5 separate regions of the Homo sapiens genome follow, and all the other regions are linked to region 5. The links are contacts of gene promoters, found by promoter capture Hi-C in blood cells and fetal thymus (Javierre and others, 2016). All regions are on one chromosome and are shown on one strand. The core of a region is centred on a gene start or on the middle of the fragment in contact, and the rest is flanking DNA. Distances in the headings are between cores, read along the strand shown. Region 1 holds the start of SCD5 (stearoyl-CoA desaturase 5). Region 2 overlaps SCD5 (stearoyl-CoA desaturase 5). Region 3 overlaps SCD5 (stearoyl-CoA desaturase 5). Region 4 overlaps SCD5 (stearoyl-CoA desaturase 5). Region 5 holds the start of TMEM150C (transmembrane protein 150C).

Region 1 (4,566 bases), core at 737-3,236, 240 kb before region 5:
CAGCTGACCTAATAAGGTTCTCAGGGGGGACAATAAGGAACTATTTTTGCTTCCCTTAGACTCCTTGTATGTAAGTTTGATACCTAATTAAATTTTTTTTTCCGATAATGGACTGTAACTTTCTGCCCTTCCAAGGTCATAGTCAAGAGGTTACATTTGTTTGCTCCATCTTTGCTTCTAGATGGGAGCTCCTTTAGGGGCGGGACCAGACTTTATTCATCCTTGGATCCCCTGTGCCCACTGGTCCTGGCACATAGCAGATGCCCAATAAATGCCAAATAAATGACTGAATGTTTAGAATGAGGGTCTTTACAGCATTGAGCCTTTCCAATAACCCGGAGAGAGGCTTTTGGCCGAGCAACTAGTCTACCCCAGAGAGAAAGGACAGTCTGAACTAGAGAGCCACAGGGAGTAGGAAGGTCTGCTGGGTATGGGGAGCAGAGGGAGCATGAGAAGAAAACGTGGTTCATTACATAGCCCAGGTTGAACAGACAGATGAAAATCGCACCCTCCAGCTTCATGTTCCACTGTCTGACTGGTCATTATATAGGGCCGACATTTATCTGGTCTCCAGGCAAATTCTATAATTTCAGCTCCGTCTGAAGCAACACAGTAACACTGACTCAGTGGCCTAGATTCCACAAGTGCCACATACCTTGCTTTAGCTTAAATCAGGCATTGTTTTGTCTGGCTGCTAGGACTGGCTCAGGTCTGCTAACAATAAGATGCTTATGCATGGCCCTTTCATGCAGTCAGTCTTTTAAATTTTTTTGCCTCTCTTGAAATCCTGGAAATGATTCCTAACAACGGTTAATCTAAAAATCAGCTGGTTTTGGTCAATATAATGGCGCCCCTTCGAACTCACATTCATGGAATATGGAAGCTGGAAGGAAGAGTAGAAACTAGTTCTGCTTCTCAGGTAAGGAAATCCGTGCCCAGAGAGTTGGGCTGGGTTCCAGCCAGTTAAAACTAGAACTCAGAGATGCTGTCCCGAGCCCTTTTACTTCTGCTGCCTGCCCGCAATTGCGGTCACACCTGCTTCAGACACTTCCAGCTCAATCCTCCCTCCATTTTCTGTGCAACTAGGGTCCTCTCTGGAGAGCTCTTAAGCCATCAGCTCTAGGAGAGAAGTGGGCAGACACAAATCTTTCACAGGTTAATTTTCCTTGGAACATTCTGGGTGATTTTTTTGTAAAGCCCGATTCTCAATGGTGTTGATTTCAGGGTAGTGTTCCTCACTGAGAGCTAAGGAGGCGTTGCAGAAGTGCGCTGATTAGCTAGAATTGACCATAAACAGAGTGGCGCGGCGGATGGGCAAAGGGTGGGCAGCGAACTGGCCCAAATCATCTGTGCATCACCTCACAAGCACCAACTGAGCACTTACTGTGTGCCTGGGTAATCCACAGCTGCCTAATTAAGAACGAGCAGCTGCCTTCCAACCCTCCCCTGGCCCGAGGAGCCCTACTAACTGGCAGATTGAGGGACTTCTGATTCTCATCGTGGGTCTGGCCTTAACTAGGGTCGCGACTCCAAGCAAGTATTTAAAATTCTCCAACCCAGGTGGCCTGAGGCTTGAGAAGAAATAAAAGGCTTCTCAAAGGGATGACAGTTTCGGGAAGTTTTTTTTTGGGGGGGGGACTGGAAAAATACCATAAAAGGCATTTTGGGGGTCACACACACACAAGAGCAGAAGCGCTGTGAGCCGCCCTGCAGGCTCCCTGCCCCGGGAGCCACCTTCCACCCGCCCCCGGGCGGAGGCGGCCAACTCCCGCCCAGCGGGCTCCCCAGTTCGGCCCCGAAAAGCCGAAAGGGGGGCGCCTTTGTCTATAAGCGCCGCACGGGCGCTCCTGATTGGCTGTAGCTAAGCAGGGCTTTCTTCCGCGCTCCTTCGGAGCGCTCCCTCCAGCGTCGCCGGCCCCGTTCCATTTTCACAGCTCCTCCTCCCCGGCCGCGCGCCCCTCCCGCCCCGCGCGCGCCTCCTCTTTCTCGCGGCCGAGTTCAGCCCGGGCAGCCATATGGGGGATACGCCAGCAACAGACGCCGGCCGCCAAGATCTGCATCCCTAGGCCACGCTAAGACCCTGGGGAAGAGCGCAGGAGCCCGGGAGAAGGGCTGGAAGGAGGGGACTGGACGTGCGGAGAATTCCCCCCTAAAAGGCAGAAGCCCCCGCCCCCACCCTCGAGCTCCGCTCGGGCAGAGCGCCTGCCTGCCTGCCGCTGCTGCGGGCGCCCACCTCGCCCAGCCATGCCAGGCCCGGCCACCGACGCGGGGAAGATCCCTTTCTGCGACGCCAAGGAAGAAATCCGTGCCGGGCTCGAAAGCTCTGAGGGCGGCGGCGGCCCGGAGAGGCCAGGCGCGCGCGGGCAGCGGCAGAACATCGTCTGGAGGAATGTCGTCCTGATGAGCTTGCTCCACTTGGGGGCCGTGTACTCCCTGGTGCTCATCCCCAAAGCCAAGCCACTCACTCTGCTCTGGGGTAAGTCCCGCCGGCGCCCCCTGCGCCCCGGCCTCCGTGGCCAGGCCGCGCTGGGGCGCGCGAGGTCGCCGCTCGCCCCTCGGCTGCGGGCGGTGCGCAGCGACCCCCGGTCTCCCCTCGCCTCCCGCTGCGCGCCGCGGCCCCCTTGGCATCCAGTTTTCCGTCCCTTGGGACGGGCAGGTGTTTCTGTCCCAGTATTTCAACTTCCGCCCCCCCCCCGCCCCCACCCCGCCGCGGTCTGCCTGAGGAAGCGCATTTGCCGGCTTCCCGATGGAGAGCCGGGGGGGACCCGGAGTCCTGCGGTGCCACCGCTGTGCGCAGAGGCGCGCGAAGGGAGAGGCTCGGCACAGGCTGAATCGGCTCCCAGCGAGGGAGGACGGGCGGGCGATTGTGTCACCTCTGCGGTCCCTGGGGCTCTCCTATCCCCCCCATCACCTCCGCGGGTCACGGACCTTGGGGACAGAGATGAGGACAAGTAAGGGAGTTGGACCGGGGAGGAGAGACCCGGCACAGGATAGAGTCTTGGTTTACGCGCACCAGATGGAAGATACCGGTTCCCCTCTTGCCTCTCCAAGGCCCCTGTCCCTGCCCCCTCCGCAATCTTCTATGCCCATTTGCAGTTCTCGGTGAAGTTTCTCGGTGAGCAAACCGATCCCATGGCGAGAGCGGTCTGACCCTAGCACGAAGCTCCGACTGTGGCTGTGCAGAGCCTTCTCCAAACCCTGTTCCCATGTGGCCAGTGGGAACCTGTGGCTCTCCTGGTACCCTCCTTCCGTGCACCCCCACTCCTGCCAGTAGGGAAGGGAGCCCGGGCGCCGACCACCATTCCCCTTCCCCTGGGCCCCAGGGACTGCGTGCCCACCCTACACGACCCCAGTCGTTGATCTTTGAACCACTTCGCAGCCGCCCTGGCCGCAATAACTGGTTTTGGCCTCCTTTACTGAAGCGGCAGTAGCCAGGACAAAAGGCACAGGCATTGATATGCTGAGTGAGAATTTGACGAGGTAATCCAAGATGCCCTTCCAGCTCCCGTTTCCCTGATCTCTAGGGGCGGGCAGGAGAAACACAACCTACTTTTATTTCCAGAGGGGAAGAGGAAGGAAGAAAATAAGACCTCTTTCTACAGGGCTTTTTTGGCATGGTGCCAGCTGCAAATGCCTAGGTAGATAATGGGGCCACTATGGTTCCAAGCCTTCCCTTGAAATCCTGCAGTCCCTGCTCTTGGAAGTAAACCCATCCAGAAGTGGGTACCTCTTAGGGGGTGTGGCTCAGGGAGGGCATAGCAGAGTTGACGGATGGTGAGAGAGGTAGGATCTTTGGGGATCCCTAAAGCCTTTAAAGTCTCCCCAAAGCTCTGGGAAATCTCCTGCTTCATCTTTCCTTCTCTCAGTGCACCTCCTCATTTCTGTGTCCTTTTCACCATCACCTTTATGTGTTGGTTTAATTCTCCAACTGACTGTAGACTGTATGATGTTCAGCTGTTGCTTCATCAACACACTCCGACACTGCCAACCAAAGCCCTTATTGCCCAGAGTTCTCCAACAAGCTCCTCTCTCCCCCCTGCTTCCAGAGGCAGGGCTGGGCTTGGTCCTCAGAGCCTGGTGACCTCTAGGGGATTGAGGCTTATCTTTAATAGCTGTGGTGTTCAGAGAGTGCTCAGGGAAAAGTGAGCACTTAAAATATTATCTTACATGCCTAGGGCTCACTGGCTCCACTTCTTACAGCCTCTGAGCCCCAAGACCCTGGCACTGGACCAGGAGCCACAAGGACAAGGCCCCTCTCTCCAAGTTTGCCAGGTCACCTCTGCCCTTTCCGGACCGCTCTCTGTGGTGAAGATAGAACCTTTGTTCTGAAAGATCTTGGCTTAGAGGACACCTCCCAGGCCCCAGTGTCCTCTAGCTTCCTTAGAGAAGTTAACACACTGAAGGAATCTGGTTTCCCCTTTGTGACTCATGTCCCAAACCCCATTCCATACCTTCCTGGATAAATTCTGCCTGTGCTTCATCTGCTATTTCCTAAGTCTTTTTTTTTTTTTTGAGACAGAGTCTCGCTCTGTCGCCCAGGCTGGAGTGCAGTGGTGCGATCTCGGC
Region 2 (4,585 bases), core at 1,681-4,180, 140 kb before region 5:
GGCCAGGGATGACAAGGAAAATGACTGTCCATTTCATGGACTCATGACCAAGGTTAAATTACAATAACAAAGGAGGCCAGAGCTTTTTATTTACTGCAGCTTTCTGTGATTTGTGGGCAGATTGTTGTTTGTGTTTTGCTTTTAACCTTTCAAGTAAGGAATGATTTGTCATGTTCATGAAAACCACATGTATTCAGGGACCGTTTATTCTTAGAGTTAAGGGTAAATCTTGTTTTTAGAACCAAATAAATATAGATTGAGATCAAGATCAGTCAAACACTTCTGGAAGATGTAATATTGTGCTCTCTTTAAATATGTTTATTGATACCAATAATGGGCACTGCCACTTAGAAATATGCTCTTCACATAACACTCACCCTGTCATGTGTGCCAATTAAGAGGTGAGGTAGAGCTCAATCTCTGCCCTGCCGAGAGTGTATGTGTGAAATTGAATTGCAAATGTACATTGACATGGTTGTGACTTTGCATCAAGACTGGCAAGAAACATTAGCAAATAAAAGATTTGCTGTAGGGAAGGATATTCAAAGGTCAAAGTTTGCTGAAGAAAGTTCTCTGCTTATGCATGGTACTGGGATGCTACAAATCAATAAAAAGGCTGCCTCCTCTCAAGTTATTGATTCTTCATGTTGCAGCTTTCCCCCCTGACACCATTTCACGTGTGTCCCTGTTCAGGAGAGAAAAAGCATGGGGGGTGTTTGAAAGCTCAGGGACCATTGTTGACGTTGTCCCTGCTTGTGTCTTGCAGCCTACTTCTGCTTCCTCCTGGCCGCTCTGGGTGTGACAGCTGGTGCCCATCGCTTGTGGAGCCACAGGTCCTACCGGGCCAAGCTGCCTCTGAGGATATTTCTGGCTGTCGCCAACTCCATGGCTTTCCAGGTGAGGATGGAGGGTCCTCTCTGTGTTGGGAGACCCAGTGCAGATGGCAGTATGGGAGGAGGGGAAAGATGGGCTGACACCCCTCCACCCCTGTCCTAGACTCAGTGTTCAGGCCCCAAGCACGCCCAGTCTGTCCCAAGTTTTTATCTCTTTGTAGCTTTTAGATACAGTAAAATGTCCCCTGGGGGGGTTTTGTGCCCTAAGGCATGCTGAACTACTGAGGGGAAAGGAGACTCCTCTATCCAGAGCCCATGCTGTGAACATACCCTGAAAGCCTCAACATTTGTCCAGCCCTAACCAGGGGCCAAGTTCTGTGATAAGCACACTGGTATGCATATAGTATTTGATCCGCATAGTAGCCCTGTGAGCTAGATGTTACATGTGTCCCATTTTACAGATGAGGAGAATGAGGTTCAGTGAGGTTAAAGAACCTGCCCAAATCATATGCCTAAAAAGCAGTACATTCAGGGCTAGGCAAATGCAGGCCAGCCTGACTCCAAGTCATTGCTCTTACAACACCTAGTCCCGAGGTTGCCCTGCGAGGTCATGGTGGAAAGACTATTCCATCTGAAGTTTGAAGACGCAGGGATTTTACTCTGATGGGTGCTGGCTGTGAATCACTTCCTCAACTTCAGTTTCTTAATCTGTAAAAATAAGAACAAAACTTCATTCTCAGGGTTGTTATAAAATCAATGAAAACTGCAGGGAGCTATAAAAATGTAAGAGACGGTCATCACTGCACTAGGATTGGGCCATATTCTTTAAGACTATCCCAGTCCTAGACCATTCCCCACCTCCTTGGGTACTTTCCTTGGGTACTTTTGGTTTGGTCATGGATCTCTGTTTTCCCAATTCCTAATCTGAGTGAGAACAACTTGTTTTCAAAACTTCTGCCCACATTATGAGTGTAGATGATTCTGGGCCCCGTGCATTTTCACTCATTGGGAAGGAATGGTGATTGCGAAAAGTGCTCTAGAGTCCAGGGAGACGGGTGACCCAGGAGCTTCCCTGTGGCCCTCAGACACACAGCTCATGTGGCCACCTCTGCCATGGGCCTTCCACTCCTACGAGACAACCTGATGCGGAATATTTCACTAAGTGCTCTTGTAGCTCAGAATTCATTTCCTTATTTTAGGCATCTCTTACACAGTTTGACTTTTCATAAGGTAAATAGGATATAACACAATAGGTCAATTAGGAAACACAATTGGTGGTGTGTATATATACTGCTTGTCATTCAAGCACATCAGGTATTAGTACTGAGGTCCTAGGAAATAAGCTATTAAGCATAAGGGAGCAGTTGGCAGCTTCCTGGTTCCATGTTCATTTGTTCACCACTGGCAGTGTGAACTATGCTGCACTTTATTTTGACTTCAGCCATCTTATTTCAGTGTTGTGCTTTCAAAATAATAATTGACTTAGGTCTTAGATGACGTTGAGGACCTAACTTGATAATTTTCATTTCTTGTGTTCAAGCAATCCTTTCTTTATAGCCTCCAATGACACACTCATGTAGTTATAAAACATTTCTATTATTGGACTTTTTTTCAAAGATAAATAACTTGTAGCTGAAGCCTAAAACTCTGATTTTTTTTCTCATGAAACTACTTGTTTATAACTCAAAATTTGAAAACCTAAGTTTTCTTAACAAAACACCACATAACAGAATATTAGACTGTGATTTTAAATTTATTTTAGGGAGAAAGTACACTGTAGATGGAAGTACCCAGGTCCTAGAATAAATTCTTTGCTCTGCCATTTGCTAGATGTGAGCCTTTCTGCAAGTATCAGTTCCTTTATCTGCAAGGGGAGGATAATAATATTTGCCTCACAGAGTTGCTAGGAAGATAAAATAATGAATAAAAAGTACCAAGCTTATAGTAGCAATCGGTGAATATTGTTCTCCCCTTCTCTTTTATGAGAATTGATATATTGTTTAATTGGTTTCTGTATGCTAATGTCTGTCATATAGAAAACAATTAATGATTGTTAGGTAAATAAAAAAATAAATGAACAGCTTTAAAATGTAGTTTTAGAAACCATCAAATTTGAACTATGCATACTTTTTCAAGGCCCACATTTGTAGTGGATTTTTAAAATTCATTCAACGAATACTTATTGAGCACCTACTATGTGGCAGACACTGAGAAGGCACAGTGAGAATAACAATGAGCAAAGAGTCACAAGCTTCGCCTTCATGGAGCTTTTCTGTCTAGTAGGATATTAGAATCCCCAAAGTTTCCCAGTGGAAATTTCAGTGTTTCATGGACCTGGGGTTTTATAACAATGTCACTTAGACCTAGGTGGAAGGTACCTCTCTAAGATCAGATTAGGGCCAGTTTCCATAACATGCAGAACTGTGTCAGTGGGAGAGAACTAGAACAGAACTAGAACTAGTCAGTGTCTAGAACAATTTATTTAAACCACTTAACCCTATGAGGAGAACAACCTGGGGAAATGAAAAAATGCTATGATCTGCCAGTGTAGGATGGTGACTTACAACCCTGACTTAATGCAGTCATTGATTTAGTTTCCCTTTGATAATCCATGGGTTTTTAAAGATAGTTTCAAAGATTCTCTCTCTTCTCTCCTTCACCGGAATGGTCATGCCATTGGCCAAAATGGACAAGTCATGCCATAGCTGTCTCTGTTTGGGATCAGCAGGGTTTTTGCTAGATGCTACAAACAAGACCTTGAGCATTAAGAACAGTATTCTTAACGTTGAGACTTAAACATTTTAAACTCCTTTTCTTTTTCTTCTATAGAAGATGTATGTATGGGGCTGAGAGGCAATAGTAGGAAAGGTGGAGATACTTTTAGTCTAAAAAAATGATGATGGGCTGGGCGTGGTGGCTCATACCTGTAATCCCAGCACTTTGGGAGGCCGAGGCGAGTGGATCACCTGAGATCAGGAGTTCGAGAGCAGCCTGGCCAACATGGCAAAACCCCGTCTCTACTAAAAATACGAAAATTAGCTGGGCATGGTGGTGCATGCCTATAGTCCCAGCTATTTGAGAGGCTGAGACAGGAGAATCACTTGAATTCGGGAGGCAGAGGTTGCAGTGAGATGAGATCACACCACTGCACTCCAGCCTGGGCGACAGAGTGAGACTCCATCTCACAAAAAAAAAAAAAAAAAAAAAAAAAAAAAAGATGATGATGGGGCAGGAATGCCTGATAAGGAGCTATAAAATCCTCTGTCCCCTCTGAACCTGAACGCTTGTATTCAGCAAAGATCTCCTGAGTTCCTCTATGGTCTATCCTCCTTCCTTGCCAGTAGGGTGAAGTCAACCTAAAGACTGCTTGCAACTTCCTTATAATTTGCTCCAAGTCAAAGATGGACCCAGGTGAGAGATGCCTGTTCTCCAAGAGTTAAGTTTTCACAAGGAAGAGCCAGGATTCAGATTTGTGCTGTCACGCTCATGCATCTGCTTCTGCTGGCTACATCTGGGTCTCTCACAGACCCAGTCCAACCAAAAGCACCTACTAGATGCTTCAGCCCACTCCCTCGTGGCTCATATTTCCTTATCAAGTCATGGTAATGAGGCATTGGATTGAGAGCTGGAAGAGAACTAAAGGGATTTAGCTTAAATTCTCATATTCTACAGAGGAGTAAACAGAGAATACCAGTGACTTCTCGAAGTTCACACAGCTAATTAGTGGATAGACAGACTGAAACCCCATTGTC
Region 3 (4,630 bases), core at 1,548-4,047, 160 kb before region 5:
TAACCTATAGACTAACTTAAGACAGGAAAAACATACAGAGGAGACAAGAGCTGGTCTTGCTCATTAAAAGGCTCAAGACTAGAGGTGGGGCATGGTGGCTCATGCCTGTAATCCCAACACTTTGGGAGGGCCGAGGCGGGCAGATCACTTGAGGTCAGGAGTTCCAGACCAGCCTGGCCAACATGGTGAAACCCCGTCTCTACTAATAATACAAAAATTAGCTGGGTGTGATGGTGCGTACCTGTAATCCCAGCTACTCGGTAGGCTGAGGCATGAGAATCGCTTGAATCCAAGAGGAGGAGGTTGCAGTGAACCGAGATCGCGGTCACTGCACTCCAGTCTGGGCGACAGAGTGAGACACTGTCTCAAAAAACAAAAATGAAACAAAAAGTCTCAAGGCCAGAAAGGGGAGACCAAGAGAAGCTAGACTTTCCTAGAGTCAAGGAAACCAGTTGTAAGGGATTTACCTATGAAGTCAGAACAGTTTTGACTGCCTGTCAATGGGGGTGTCCAAGGAGAAAGACCATTGCTTCTGAAAAGACTAAAAGAGAACCAAAGCATGGAGCAGCAGCTGTCTCTGGGAGACAAAAGGAAGAATCTTCACGGAGGCTGGGACTGATGGATGGACCATAACCTCTGATTTGGTGATACAACTCCAGGAGTGGGACCTGTATACTCATAGAGGGTGAGGATGAGTGTGTTTCTGAATGTTTGAAATATGTTTAACTCCACAAGGGTAGACCAGGGTACACACCTTTAAGGAGCATACATACTCTTAGTATAGTGTTCTATGCAGATGGCATCCCTTAGTGACCTTTTCCAGAGACAATGCAGGTGGTGCAGTTGTACAGGACCAAGGCCTTGTCCACTGCATATCATTGTTACACCCGAATCCCCTTACATCCTAAAGTCAAGTTTAGGGTTTCATTTGAACCTGAGTGGAGGAGAAATGAATTCAGAATCTGATGGGGAAACCTCTCCTTACTTAGATATGAACCCAGGAACCTCAAGATGTGAGATGGGGTGGACTTTTCTGTAGCACACCTCTATATTATCCTGTCATGATTATTTAAAAAAGAAGCTTCATTCCATTAGAGCTGGAACAGCCCCCACTCTGCAGGATGAGCTTGGGCAGCAATTGACAGGTGCCCTTCAGAACTTAGAAAATGTAGAGGAGAAAGGAGATGTGTCTCCTTTTCTTGACCAATTAGGACAGCTTTGTGACAGCTCCAGGGGAAAGGAACAGGACGAAGAGGGCTGTGTATGAGATGGGAGCATGCCAAGAAGCATAGGCTTTATCCAGTCCAGCGCGTCTCACACTGCACACTGTGGCCTCACAGGGGGTGTAGAACACTTCAGTTTGGATCGTGACCAACATTTAAAGCATAATAAAATAGAAAGTGTCAGTGCATTGAGTTTAGTAAGAATTAAATATTGTTTATGAAAATTGTATATCAGTCATATTTGTGTGTGTTCTAGATTGCAACGTGTATTATATTACTTAGTGCAGGTCTCTATTTAAAAAAAAAAAAACAGCTGCTTTCTTAACAAGCAGAGTGAAAATAACTAGTCTTTTAATCTCAGTGTCCGGCAAACTCAAGTTTGCCCAGTTGATAAAGTCCCGATTAACCTTGCTGTAAAAATCCAAGGTAATTGTTTTTTTTTTTTTTTTTTGAGACAGAGTTTCGCTGTTGTTGCCCAGGCTGGAGTGCAATGGCACAATCATGGCTCACCACAACCTCCATCTCCCGGGTTCAAGCGATTCTCCTGCCTCAGCCTCCCGAGTAGCTGGGATTACAGGCACGAGCCACCACGCCCGGCTAATTTTGTATTTTTAGTAGAGATGGGGTTTCTCCATGTTGGTCAGGCTGTCTCGAACTCCTGACCTCAGGTGATCTGCCTGCTTTGGCCTCCCAAAGTGCTGGGATTACAGGTGTGAGCCACCATGCCTGACCCAAGGTTATTGTTTAGGAACAAACATGGTGGGAGCAAAAAGTTGTTGGGTGTTCCTCTGTTTAAGAGCCTTCTGGAAGGATGAAGTCTCCACTGGGCTGACACAGAGCCTCTGCGGCCTCTGAGGCCTGTCAGTGGAGACCCTTCAGGCGGTTTTTCCTCACTTAGGTTCCATGACTCACCTTGTCAGTTGAAATCCTGCTTCCTATGGGATTGGGCCAAAATCAAATGCATCTTTCCCAGAGCTTTCTTTTCTTTTTTCTTTTTTTTTCTTTTTTTGAAACAGAGTTCACTCCCATCACCCAGGCTGCAGTGCAGTGGCATGGTCTCGGCTCACTGCAACCTCTGCCTCCCAGGTTTAAGTGATCTTCCCACCTCAGCCTTCTGGGTAGCTGGGACTACAGGCACATACCACCAGGCCCAGCTAATTTTTGTATTTTTTGTAGAGGTAGGGTTTCATCATGTTGCCCAGGCTAGCCTCGAACTCCTGGTCTCAAATGATCTGCCCACCTCAGCTTCCCAGAGTGCTAGGATTACAGGCATGAGCCACCACGCCCGGTCCAGGCTTTATTTTCTAAAGGAATCACGTTTTAGAATGTCCATGGGTGAGCTAATGCTGTGACAGTAACATATGGAAGAAAAAGTACACTCATGCTACCCATAGCTGTCATTTTTGTTTGTTTGGTGAGACAAGTGGAAGGTGCTGGTATAGTACTGTGAGTGGTTGATAGTGAAATGAAAATAAAACTCAAGTATGGCTTTTACCCTCTGAAAGTTAGCGTGGACGGTGGTGACAGAGTGATAGCTTTCTTTGGGCTTGAACTGAATTCACATTCAAAGTTTGATTATCACCATCAGGAGCCTGTACCCATGAGCCCCATTAGCCCTTAGGAAAGCCTAACACCATCTAGATTTCACATCAGCTGGAAAGGTTTATTTCTGAAGTTCAGGGGAGTTATTTATTAAAGCAACAAAATATTCCGAGGATATAGATTATGGGAAAACTCCTTACTCTGGAACTATTCTGACTTGGTTTTTCTTTTTTGTTGTATTTGGCCTTCAGAAAACCCTTCCTGAATTCTTCCTGGTTATCATCCAGGTTGATAACCTTGTTGGTCTTTAAGTGTGCAATTTGAAATATAATCAACATATGTCTACCATTTTCTTTGCATGGGAGAGAGTGAAAATTGTTTCTTATTAATAGTTACCTTTATTATGTTCATTAGGAAAAACAAAATGCCATGTTCCATTTGCTCTCAGAGGCAGTGGAGGACAGGCCCTGGGGCCTAAATGTCTAGGTTCGTATCTTCCTGCTGCCACTAGCAAGCCCCACTGCTCACAGGCACAACGACAGCAGTTTTCAGGGTATCTATCACCTGTCTACCACTTACCAAGCACTTGACATTTCTCATCTTTAGTCCTAAAAACAGTTCTTCCAGCTTTGTTTTGTTCTTCCCATTTTTCAGATGAGGAAACAGACTCAGAAAGCATTAGGGAAGAGCTAATCACGGCCACCATGTATATCTTTTTATATTATTCTTTTAATTTGATATTGCCTTTCCCACTTACTCTAGGGCCTACTTATTTGTGGGCAGGAAGAGGAGGTATGCATGTATTTAAGTTTAATCAGTTTGGTATTAGAAAGTCTGTACAAAGCAAGGTCTGTTTTATTTATTTATTTTTTCTAAAGATGGGGGTCTCACCATGTTGCCCAGGCTGGTCTCAAACTCCTGGGCTCCAGCAATCCTCCTGCCTCAGCCTCCCAAATTGCTGGGATTACAGGTGTGAGCCACCATGCCTGGCCTAAAGCAAGGTTTAGCCCGTACTTTCTCATGCTGGCCATCTATGTTCTGGTTCTAACGTTTGTGTGGTTGGTGTTAATGTTAGACCTAAAAAGAGAAAGATGAAATTCGGTATTTGTTATCAACTGTCAAAGACACTTGTTTTCCCCAGACTTTTATTATGTACATTTTCAAACATACAGAATTTTAAAGAATAATACAGTAAACACCCATATATCTACCACTAGATTCAATAATTATTAACATTTGCCATATTTGCTTTATTTACCTATAACTTTTTTTCTCAGCCATTTGAAAGTAAGTTGCAGATGTTGTGGCCATTTACACCTAAATGATTCCATACACATCCCCTAAAAATAAGGATATTATCATAACCTAATCTAATATCTTGTCCAGATTCAGATTTCATGTGTCCTCAGACTATCTTTTATAATTGTTTTTTGTTTTGAGCTAGGAGCTAGTCAGGCTTTCACATTGTATTTGATTGTTATTTGTTTTCATTGTCTTTGGAACAGACCCTCACCCTTGACATTGACTTTTTGTTTTAGTTTTCTGTAGAATGTCCCACATTTTTGTGTGATTGTTTCTACCTTCCCTCTGTTTTCTGTAAACTGCGAGGTGAGTCTTACCGGCATGGTTGAAGTTAAGCATATTTGGCAAGAATGCCTGAAGGGTGATGCTGTGTGCTTCCTATTCATCATCAGAAGGTGTCAATTGCCTGCTTGTTCCACTTTAAAGTTTTTTAATTTTTAAGCTTTATCACGCTTATCAAACATATCAGAAAGCAAATAATCAGCGCATCTTATGGTAATCGACAAAACTGAACAAGGTAATTTTATTTACAGAAAAAATTTTAGCAAAAAAGTATATAGTAC
Region 4 (4,743 bases), core at 217-2,716, 210 kb before region 5:
AGGCTGTGGGGGAGAGGAAGGGAGCCAACGGTCTGAACTCCCTGGCCTAGAGAATCTGGAACATGCCAGAGGAAAGACTGGCCGCTGCAGAGAGTGGGTCCTTGGTGAGCTGAGGGCAGTCAGGCAGGGCAGGATTAGTTCCAGGGAATGGGTTTAAGGACTTCTCCCCTGTTGGTGCCTCTAAAGCTTTGCTGATGGTCAAATTCCAAATTCCTCCATCAGTCTCAAAGCTCTTATTAGTCACTTTAATTGGAATCCTGGGAAGACAGAGTGGGTGGAAGAGAAGCGGGCAGGGTGGGAGAGAAACAGAACCAAGAGACTGGGTCTATGTAACAGTTTTCTTCAGGCAGTAAATTCCTCTTACATGCTGGGAGGAGCAAAGGGTGGGGGAAGAGGGAAGGTCACTTTTCTCCCAGGGAGAAGTGGTTTGTGGGTTTCTGTGCTCAAAACCTGGGGCTACTCTTTCTTTTCGAGGAATTTTATCTTACATTTTATAAATTAAGAAGTACTTGTTCATTGTTGACAGCCTAGAAAACACAAGGAAGCAAAAGCAAAAGCAAAAAAGTTACTTGTATCTCCCCATTTTAGAGATACTATTATTAACATTTTGGGCTATAGCCTTTCAGCCTTTTTTCTCTATGCACAATTTGTCTCACTGTCTGCAATTATACTATAACCTTGTTTTGTTAGCTGTTTTTTCATGCGTTAATGCGTCGTAGACATCTTTTCATGTCCATAGATGTGGATCATGGATTTTTTTTTAATGGCAGTATCGTATTCCAACGTTTAGATGTACTTAACCCCCTATTGTTGAAAATTTAGGTTGTTTTTCGTTGTTGTTGCAGTGTTGATGTTATCAGGCTACATCCTTGTAGCTTCATCCTCATGCACATCCTTAATAATTTCCTCAGAATAAATTTCTAGATGCATTTCCATAGGATGTATTTCTATGTGCTTTTTTTTTTTTTTTTGAGATGGAGTCTCATTTTATTGCCCAGGCTGGAGTGCAGTGGCATGATCTTGGATCACTGCAACCTCTGCTGCCTGGGTTCAAGCAATTCTTCTGCCTCAGCCTCCCGAGTAGCTGGGATTACAGGCATGCGCCACCATGCCAGGCTAATTTTTGTATTTTTAGTAAGACGAGGTTTCACCATATTGGCTAGGCTGGTCTCAAACTCCTGACCTCAAGTGATCCACCCGCCTCAGCCTCCCAAAGTGCTGGGATGAGCCACCACGCCCGGCCTCTATGTGCATTTTCAAGGCTTTATACCAGTGCTCTCAACCAGGACTGAGCCCTCACCCCCAAGAGGCATTTGGCAATGTCTAGAAATGTGTTTGAATGTCACAACTGGAGGGGGAGATTGCCGCTAGCATCTAGTGGATAGAAACTCCCCACATCAAGGAATTATCAAGTCCAAAATGTTAATAGTGCCATGGTTGAGAAACTTTGCTTAGACATGTGGGTATTTTAATTCTTTGTAATATGTGTGGGGCTGGAGATTCTAAGCCTTGGAAGAACACGAGGTGGGGGTACTCAGTTTAGCTGGCTGAAGCTCAGCCAAAACCAACCCAATCTCATCCTCCCCTCCACTTGCAGAAGGACTTGGGTGGCCCTGCTGATTTGGAGTAGCGAAATGACTGATGTGTGCTACTTGGAGCCTGTCCCTGCATCTAGGAGACAAAGAGAGGCAGGATGCCCTGGAAGGAGGTGCAGAAGTGAGAGAGAGGCAGAGAGAGAAGGAATGGGGAGGATGTGTGGTGTGGTGCTGAACAATATAATCCTTGTTGCAATTAAAATCCTTGTTGCAACTATGTCGTCTTTAGGGACTTGAAGGCCACTTCCCAGCACTGAGGACCCAGGCAGGGAGGACACATGCAATTGCAGAATGCGGGAGGAGGGAGTGACCAGAAAGACTCTATTGTACCCCTCGAAGCTGGCATAGGGAGCATGAAGTCCTGTGTCCTGGGGTGCTGGCCAGGGCCTGCAGGATCAGGAATGAAAAACATCAGTGCTCCCCACACCATGCATTGCAGTTCTATGAGATCTGAAATGTTGCCCTATCCATTAAGTCTCCTTCTCAAGTAAACCTATGACTCATTGAACTAGCCACTTTATTTGTTCATCTTTGGAATGCATCACAATCATTCATTCATAACCCATATAATTACTGAGCACCTACTAGATGCCAGGCACTATGAGAGGCAATGAATAAAATAGAAACACTTTCTGCTGTCATGGAGGAAACAGTCCCTGACAGTTCATCAAGCAGCAGAAATTCTATGAAGAGGACATACAGGGTTCAGGGGAGCACAGCGGGGGAGCACCCCACCTAGGGCGCATGGGGTCCTACAAGAGGTGCTTCTGCTCTTGTCACGGGGAACCTTTCTGCCTCCATGTGAGAAAGCCCAGGCCAGCCAGTAGAGAGAGAGGCCCAGCCATCCCTGCTGAGACTAGACATGTATGAGGCCATCCTAGACCATCCAGCCATAGCGAGACCATTTCAGATGGGAAGACCCACCCTGACAACCCATAGAATTGTCACAAATGGTGAATTGTTGTTGCTTCAAGCCACTGAGTTAGGGATATGTTTGTAAACAATCAAAGCTAACCAGCACAAGTCATGTGGCTGCTCAAGAGTTATTGACAGAACGGTGGGGTGCTATAATTGGCCAGACCTGGGTCAAATGCCCACTTATATGCCCAAGAGACTCTACTCTGTAACTGAAGACATGTTGGGAAAGCTTACCTGGCAGATCCAAAGGATACTTGTCACTGTCTGATGTAGTGACGCATGGACAAAAATGGCCTCAGCATCTTCCAGTCTGTTCTTTCTCCTGTATTCTCAGTCTTGGTTAGTAGCACCACCTTCCATCTGATTGCTAAAGCCAAAAATCTCTGTCATTCTGGACTCCTTTCTTTCCCTCAACTCACACATTTATTCAATCACTACCTTCTGCTGAAATCGCCATCAAAATTTTTTTTATTATATCCCTGGATATTCTTTGCCCTTCGAGACTCAGCCTGGGCTTTACCTGACCAGGAAACTTTCCTGAAACCCCAAGTTGGGCTAAATAACTCTCTTGAATGCATATCTGTACCTTACTTAACACATTCTATGGCTGCTTTTGATCATGAGTGTGGCTCCCTCACTGGACTGGAAGCTCCCTGAGGGTAGGGACTGTTCACAAGATGTGGTTGGGAATGATCATGCAACAGATGTGTGTGGAACTGAACCAAATTTCTCTGACACAGTTTTCACCTTTTTTTATTAACTTAGATTTCAGAAAAAAGGAATGAACTCAAAGCCTTTTGTCCCTGAAGGATTTAAGGGGAAGCTGGTCGGTAGTGGCCTGCCAGGGTTAATGAAGGGATTCAGGAGGCAGGTGGAGAGGCAGGCATGGGACCATGTGGTCTGTGGCTGTAGATTTGAACACTACAACCTCCCCAGCCTCCCCAAACTGTGTGATTTTAAGCAAAATATTTACTTCTTTGAGTCACCTTCTCCTATCTGCAAGAATACAGTAACTGTATTTTTCTAGTAGGGTTGCTGTGAAAGTTGAACAAAGATAACATAGGCATAGCGTCCTACACCGTTGGTGGGTCCTTAATGAAATTAGTTTCTTTCTTTTCTTCTTGAAATACCCCCTTGTCTTGCAGCAGGTTCCCTCAGAATCAGAGCCTGAGAGAACACTTTGAGTATAAGTAGTTTGCTTGGGAGGTGATCCCTGAAAGGAGTGAGAAGTGAGATGGAGATGAGAAAGAACCCAGGGTATGTTAGTAAACCAGCTACCAGTCAGCTCATTGGCTCGTGCCTGTAATCCCAACACTTTAGGAGGCTGAGGCAGGAGGATTGCTTGAACCCAGGAGTATGAGACCAGTCTGGGCAATATGGCAAAACCTAGTCTCTACAAAAAATACAAAAACATTAGCCAGGCATGGTGGTGCGCACCTGTAGTTCCAGCTACTCAGGAGGCTGAGGTGGGAGGATCACCTGAGCTCAGGCAGGTTGAGGCTGCAGTGAGCAGTGATTGTGCCACTGCACTCCAGGCTGGGTGACAGAGTGAGATCCTGTCTCAAAAAACAAAAAACAACAAACAAACAAAAAAACAATAAACCAGCTATTACTGTGGGCTACTGGGGCCATCTGTCTGGGGCCATCTGGGCCGTTGTGTAGATTAGAACATGCCTCAGAGGACGAGAGAATAGGAGGCATTTATCCACCCAACTCTGTCCACCATTGGCTCATGGATGCTGTTAGGGCATTAACAACCCAGCTCTCTGTTTTGTTTCCTGGACTGGGAAAAGTTCTCAGGCAGAGAATCAGAAGAGCTTGTGGTAAGAAGCCATTGGCACAGATAGGAACGGTAAGAGCCAAGGGGACATGTGCAGAGCCCTGGCAGCCTTGGCTACACTGCCTTTTTGCTGAAATGATATTCTTCATTCCCATACTTATTATTTCTTATACTTAACAAATATTTCCCTGAATAAAGAGGATTTGAAATAAAATACAAGTGGGCTGTTTTCTCTTATCACTGTGAATGGATGAAATCCCTAGAAATGCAACTGCTTGCTTACTGTACTCTGAAAGTATAGTAAGAGCAGCAGCAGAACTGTCAGCAGTGGTTAAGCGGATGATCAGCTGCAACTCATCAACCCTTAGGGCTTTCAGGTACTCCTGCTCTGATGATCACAGCTATCAAAGAGAAGGGAGATGGGAAAGGGAAAAATACATGGGGGAAAAT
Region 5 (4,922 bases), core at 1,832-4,331:
CAATGTGACAACCTCCCAAGTGATGCCAAGGCATAGCACATACTCCGAGAGCTAGCTTCCTATAAAAAGGAGTAAGAGGCCGGGTGCGGTGACTCACGCCTGTAATTCCAGCACTTCGGGAGGCCGAGGCAGGCAGATCACGAGGTCAGGAGATCGAGACCATCCTGACTAACATAGTGAAACCTCGTCTCTACTAAAAATACAAAAAAAATTAGCCAGGCGTGGTGGCGGGCACCTGTAGTCCCAGTTACTCGGGAGGCTGAGGCAGGAGAATGGCATGGACCCGGGAGGCGGAGGTTGCAGTGAGCCGAAATCGCACCACTGCACTCCAGCCTGGGCGACAGAGCGAGACTCCACCTCAAAAAAAAAAAGAAAAAAAAAAAGGAATAAGAAGAGGATGTAGGAAGATCCTCACAAATATGTGCTTGCCTCATCAACACAACAATTCCTCACTCTCACTCCCCAAATACTCAGGACCAAGCTGCCTTGGGGCCTTTAATGGTCTTTGTGAGGTAGAAGCAAGTGCTGGCTGGAAGCCTTCAGAGATTCATTTAAAATTCATCCCCCAAAAAATACTCAAAAGAAAAAAGGACAACCGGTTCTGGAAAAGTATTTCAGTCTTACACCCATATATGATTTAAAATATCTAAGGGTATATTGAGTACATGGTGGACAACAAATTTTAACAGATGGGATACCAAGAAAAAGGCACAGAGAAGCCCATGTTTTGCTTGTACTCTCGAAGCTTCGCTCGAACTCTCATGACATTAACAGAATCTGCTTATAGCAACCAACTCTCCTTCATGGCCAGCATTTTAACACACAATTTCAGCTGGTAATATCACTGTCAGGAATGTAATTCATTTTGCTTTTTGGGTTTATTTGGAGGGACATTTTGGAGATGAAGGCGGCGGTGATTTAGTGGTGCTGAGGAATGGCACTGAGCCTGCGATCCTCACAAACTCAAGTTGGTTTTTTTTAGGAAACATAGGCCTGGCTCTAAATGAAAATGAAAATGTTGAAATAAATTAAACCTGGTGCATGGATTCTCAATCCTTCCACAAAAAAATGGGGGAGGGGAAAGTAAGGGCATTTTACAAATTGGGAGCCCTATTCCCAAGAAAGGGAGTGATATGGCATGGCCATGTCGGAATCACCTGCGGTTCTTTGTCAAAATACCTGTGTTCTGGTTTCCCCCGCCACCTCCAATCAGGTTTTGACTCTGGGTCTGAGGTGAACCCAGGCATCATTTTCTAAAGCCCCCACTGGTGATTCTGATGTGAAAACAGAGTACCACTTCTGTGTTTGAGGGACAGCTAATTCTTTGGCTGGATCTACTTCTGAAAGAATGAATTGGAAGATCTAGCTAGAGGACTCTTTCCGTTATTGCAGAGAGAAATGAATGGCATGGGGACAGGGAGTAGAGAGAGGAGGGGTTCATGGATGGGCCTCAAGCAATCTTACCTTTGGGGGAGTCAGACCACTTTGAGGGTCTGATTAATGTGTAGTTACTCTCCTCAGAAAAGTACACATAAGCTAATTCCCACAAAATTGAGCATATACTTTCAAGGGAGTCTAGACTAAGATTCAGTTTTTGCTTTTGCTATTTTAATTGAATGGATAACAGTCCCACTCATTAAAATAAGGAAAACAAGAGAAGGCAAGATCCCTGGTCTCAGGAAGCTTACAGTCTAGTAGCCAGGAGAAAACAGTAACAAGAAATCAACATACAGAAAAAAAAAAAGAATCAATATACACATAGTAGACAATAATCACAAGAATTGTGGGGAAGGGAGAGTTCTGGAACCGAACGTTAATTGCAGAATTTGAATATGCTGAATTGGAGAAGATTCTTAGAAACACCTGGTTGGGCCGGGCGCGGTGGTTCACGCCTGTAATCCCAGCAGTTTGGGAGGCTGAGGCAGGCGGATCACTTGAGGCCAGGAGTTTTGAGACCAGCCTGGCCAACGTGGTGAAACCCCGCCTCTACTGAAAATACAAAAATTAATCGGGCATGGTGGCGGGCGCCTGTAATCCCAGCTACTCAGGAGGCTGAGGCGAGAGAATCGCTTGAACCCGAGAGGCAGAGGTTACAGTGAGCCGACATTGCGGCACTGCACTCCAGCCTGAGCGACAGAGCAAGACTCCGTCTCAAAAAAAAAAAAAAAAAGAAAGAAAAGAAAAGAAAAGAAAAAGAAAAAGAAAAAGAAAAAGAAAAAAAGGGAATGCCTGCTTGTGTAGAGACAGCAGTTTAAAGGAGACAGGTGTGCTACGGAAGCCCCCAAAAGAATAGAGGGCAGACTGACAAAGGCCGGTTGATAGAGAGCCACCTGTTGGAGGCCAGAGAGGTTGTGTTTGGAACCCAGGCTCATGATGAGCCTAAGATAAAAATGGCATTGATCCATGCTGCTGCTAGAGGTCACTGACATGGTGCCATGGGGTCCCATGGTAGGTTGGGGGTCCGGGATGGGGGAAGCTGTCAAAACGCTGATGAACACAGTTTATGACGGACTCAGACGAGACCCAGGGAGGAAAGCTGCAAGCTGGCGCTGGGAGGTCGGCCTTGGTGTCTGCTGTTCATTGCCAGGGTCCGAAGTTGGCTCTGTGTTTGTTCAATAGGATGGAAAAAAAAAAACCAAAAACCGCGGGACAGCGCTGAGTGGAGGAGAACTACATTCAGTCAATGGGCATGAAAATGAATTTTAGCTGCTTTGTGCAAAAACCCTAGGTGTGCGGACGAAAGAGAGCCAGGCAGAAGGTTACAACAGGTCAGGAATAAATAACCACCAGGCGGAGGATCCAAGATTCTGTCCTTCCTTTTGTTGGATGAGGAGCGCCAGGCAAACGCGTCCACAAAGGCTTCGGAAGGAAGCGGCTCGCCCGCCCACACCCGGCTCCTGCCCCGGGTGACTATTAGGGGCCCCGGGGGGGTGGCAGAAGCCCGAGACCCAGGGGATCAACTCTCCCCGAAGGCCTAGCAGCGGGGACCCCAGAATAAGTCGGGGGCGGGCCCCGGCGCGGCAGGAGGGGGCCGGGCGGGCGGGTGAGCAGATCCCACCCCTTCCTGAAGGAAGCGCCCTACCCGCCGCTACTGCTGCCGCCGCCGCCACCGCAGCAGGTCACAGCCCCTCGAGGCGACAGCGGCCCCGCCGCACCAGAGCAGGTAGGCGCGGCGCCCCCTCCCCTGCCTGGGCCCGTCGCGCAGCCAGGGGGCGTCCGGCCCGGCCCCGTGCGCAGCCCGCAGGCGGAGACCGGGGACGGCGGGGGCTGCAGCGCGGCTGGGGCGGCTGGGTCCGCCCGGCTGCGGGGCCCTGCTCGGCTGCGGCCCCCTCCCATAGCGTCCCGGGCGCGGGGCCGCCCGCCCGAGCCCTCCGCGGGCGCACGCTCCCCGGCAAGTCCAGGAGTCGGTGCCGGCTCTGCCCCGCGACCTGCGAACGCCCGAGCCGGCGCGCCTCGGTCCCCGCCGCCGCAGTGCCGCCAGCCAGCCCGCCCGCTGCGGCCCCGGCCCCGGCCCCGGCCCCGTCCTTTGACAGGTGTCCCCACCCGCCGCCCCATCATCTCGTTATCGGGTGGACTCGGGTGAGAAGCGACCCCAAGTTTGACCTCCCGGTCCCTGTGCCATTCTCCCTGCACTTTGCGGTTAGCCAGGTCAGGCTGGCTCGGGAAGCAGGGGATCTGGGAAGGAGGCACTAACTTGCTTTGCCCTGTGTACCGCCCTCCACTCTAAATGCACAGTCTTCCTTCCTTTCCTGGGCGCACACTTGGGAAGAAATGGGATTTTTGGTTTTTCGGCGGGAGGCCGTGGTAGGTGGGTTACCTAGGCTCTTTGGTAATCTGCTGCAATAAAAAAGTGATTAGCTTTGGGTTCTGGAGAGAGTCCTTGAGTGGTTTTCCCCTCCTTAAATGAATCAAATGGAGTATGAGAGGGTTTTCCCATTTTAAATTCATGCTCCTTTTTTCTCTACTCATTCCTTTCCTCCACCCCTACCCCCACAGCACTTTATGATGTCCCACACATTTCACTGATCTTTTTGGTCAGGTTTATTCCGGCCAGACCGCCTTTCACGGTTGGGCCAGGATTGTGACCGCATGTGGGAACATAGCTCAGGTAGAATGGAAGTCCATCTTCCCGAGTGAACCCACTCCGATGTCCTACATGCGAGGTCCTGTTGGGGAACCAGATATACCAATGCCATGTTGAAAAACAAAACCAAACAGTTATTGGATCTAAAACAATAACAAAGCCTAAATGGCAGGATCAGTTTCTGCATCTTTCTCTGCTTGAACCAAAGACATTTTAATAGTGCAGGGCTATAACTCCATTCTGGGCAGCAGTTCATCGAAAGGATAGTTGAGTGTGGATTTATAAACTCCATGGTAGCAGTCATTAAACTGACCTACTTAAAGTTTCCTATTTCAAGGAAAAATTGTTAGGCCCATATATGTGACCGATCAAAGAATTTTAGTCTCAGCTCTCATGTATCAAATCCCAAACTTTTTCTTGTATGTGTTCTAGAGACTCCATGTTTCCAGGATTAACTATAGCTGTCATCTATTAATGAGCTAGAAATGTGAGTTTAATCTTCAAGGCATAAGCGTAGGAATTTTAATGGTGTGTCCTTTATACATTATTTAATAAATGTTTTGCAAGTCCCCCAAGTTGGAAGCTCACAAACTGGACATGGTAAATAAAAGGGTAAAGAAGTTTTGCTAACAATAATGACTAGTTGATAGATGTTATGACATTCACAAATATATTAAAGTATTTGAAAAACACTTTAATGCATGTTTATTATAATCTGCCATTAGCTGAATGCAATCTGTTTGGATTATTTAAATTGGCATTTAAGTCTTCAGAGCAATTGCTTAATTCATGCATTTCTTACAAATACCTTTTCCATGTTGCTTTGTGGGGGGATAAT

Evidence for each region. The method cuts DNA at HindIII sites, captures the fragments that hold promoters and counts their contacts. A CHiCAGO score of 5 or more calls a contact.
Region 1: a contact is called between the fragment with the promoter of SCD5 here and the fragment with the promoter of TMEM150C in region 5, in 6 of 17 cell types (erythroblasts, M1 macrophages, endothelial precursors and 3 more). The highest score is 6.7, in erythroblasts.
Region 2: a contact is called between a fragment that was not itself captured here and the fragment with the promoter of TMEM150C in region 5, in 2 of 17 cell types (M1 macrophages and M2 macrophages). The highest score is 6.2, in M1 macrophages.
Region 3: a contact is called between a fragment that was not itself captured here and the fragment with the promoter of TMEM150C in region 5, in 4 of 17 cell types (M2 macrophages, M1 macrophages, M0 macrophages and 1 more). The highest score is 10.1, in M2 macrophages.
Region 4: a contact is called between a fragment that was not itself captured here and the fragment with the promoter of TMEM150C in region 5, in 1 of 17 cell types (M1 macrophages). The highest score is 8.1, in M1 macrophages.

What each region holds. Positions count from the first base shown.
Region 1 is chr4:82,796,216-82,800,781 of GRCh38, reverse strand. It overlaps SCD5 (stearoyl-CoA desaturase 5), which reads left to right and starts at 1,986. Exons shown (of 5, transcript NM_001037582.3): 1 at 1,986-2,476. The coding sequence starts at 2,245. RefSeq lists enhancers at 828-1,544, 1,545-2,262, 3,239-3,760 and silencers at 1,631-2,050, 2,381-2,430. The HindIII fragment of the contact is 16,836 bases long and covers 1-4,566 here.
Region 2 is chr4:82,701,595-82,706,179 of GRCh38, reverse strand. SCD5 (stearoyl-CoA desaturase 5) reads left to right here. Exons shown (of 5, transcript NM_001037582.3): 2 at 767-897. Among named protein-coding and RNA genes, the nearest start is that of MIR575, 50 kb to the left of the region's middle. The HindIII fragment of the contact is 313 bases long and covers 2,774-3,086 here.
Region 3 is chr4:82,723,462-82,728,091 of GRCh38, reverse strand. All of the region lies in intron 1 of SCD5 (stearoyl-CoA desaturase 5), which reads left to right. Among named protein-coding and RNA genes, the nearest start is that of MIR575, 28 kb to the left of the region's middle. The HindIII fragment of the contact is 3,428 bases long and covers 1,084-4,511 here.
Region 4 is chr4:82,770,317-82,775,059 of GRCh38, reverse strand. The region is part of intron 1 of SCD5 (stearoyl-CoA desaturase 5); the gene reads left to right. Among named protein-coding and RNA genes, the nearest start is that of MIR575, 19 kb to the right of the region's middle. The HindIII fragment of the contact is 2,556 bases long and covers 189-2,744 here.
Region 5 is chr4:82,560,147-82,565,068 of GRCh38, reverse strand. It overlaps TMEM150C (transmembrane protein 150C), which reads left to right and starts at 3,081. Exons shown (of 8, transcript NM_001080506.3): 1 at 3,081-3,163. RefSeq lists an enhancer at 2,856-3,355. The HindIII fragment of the contact is 8,598 bases long and covers 1,686-4,922 here.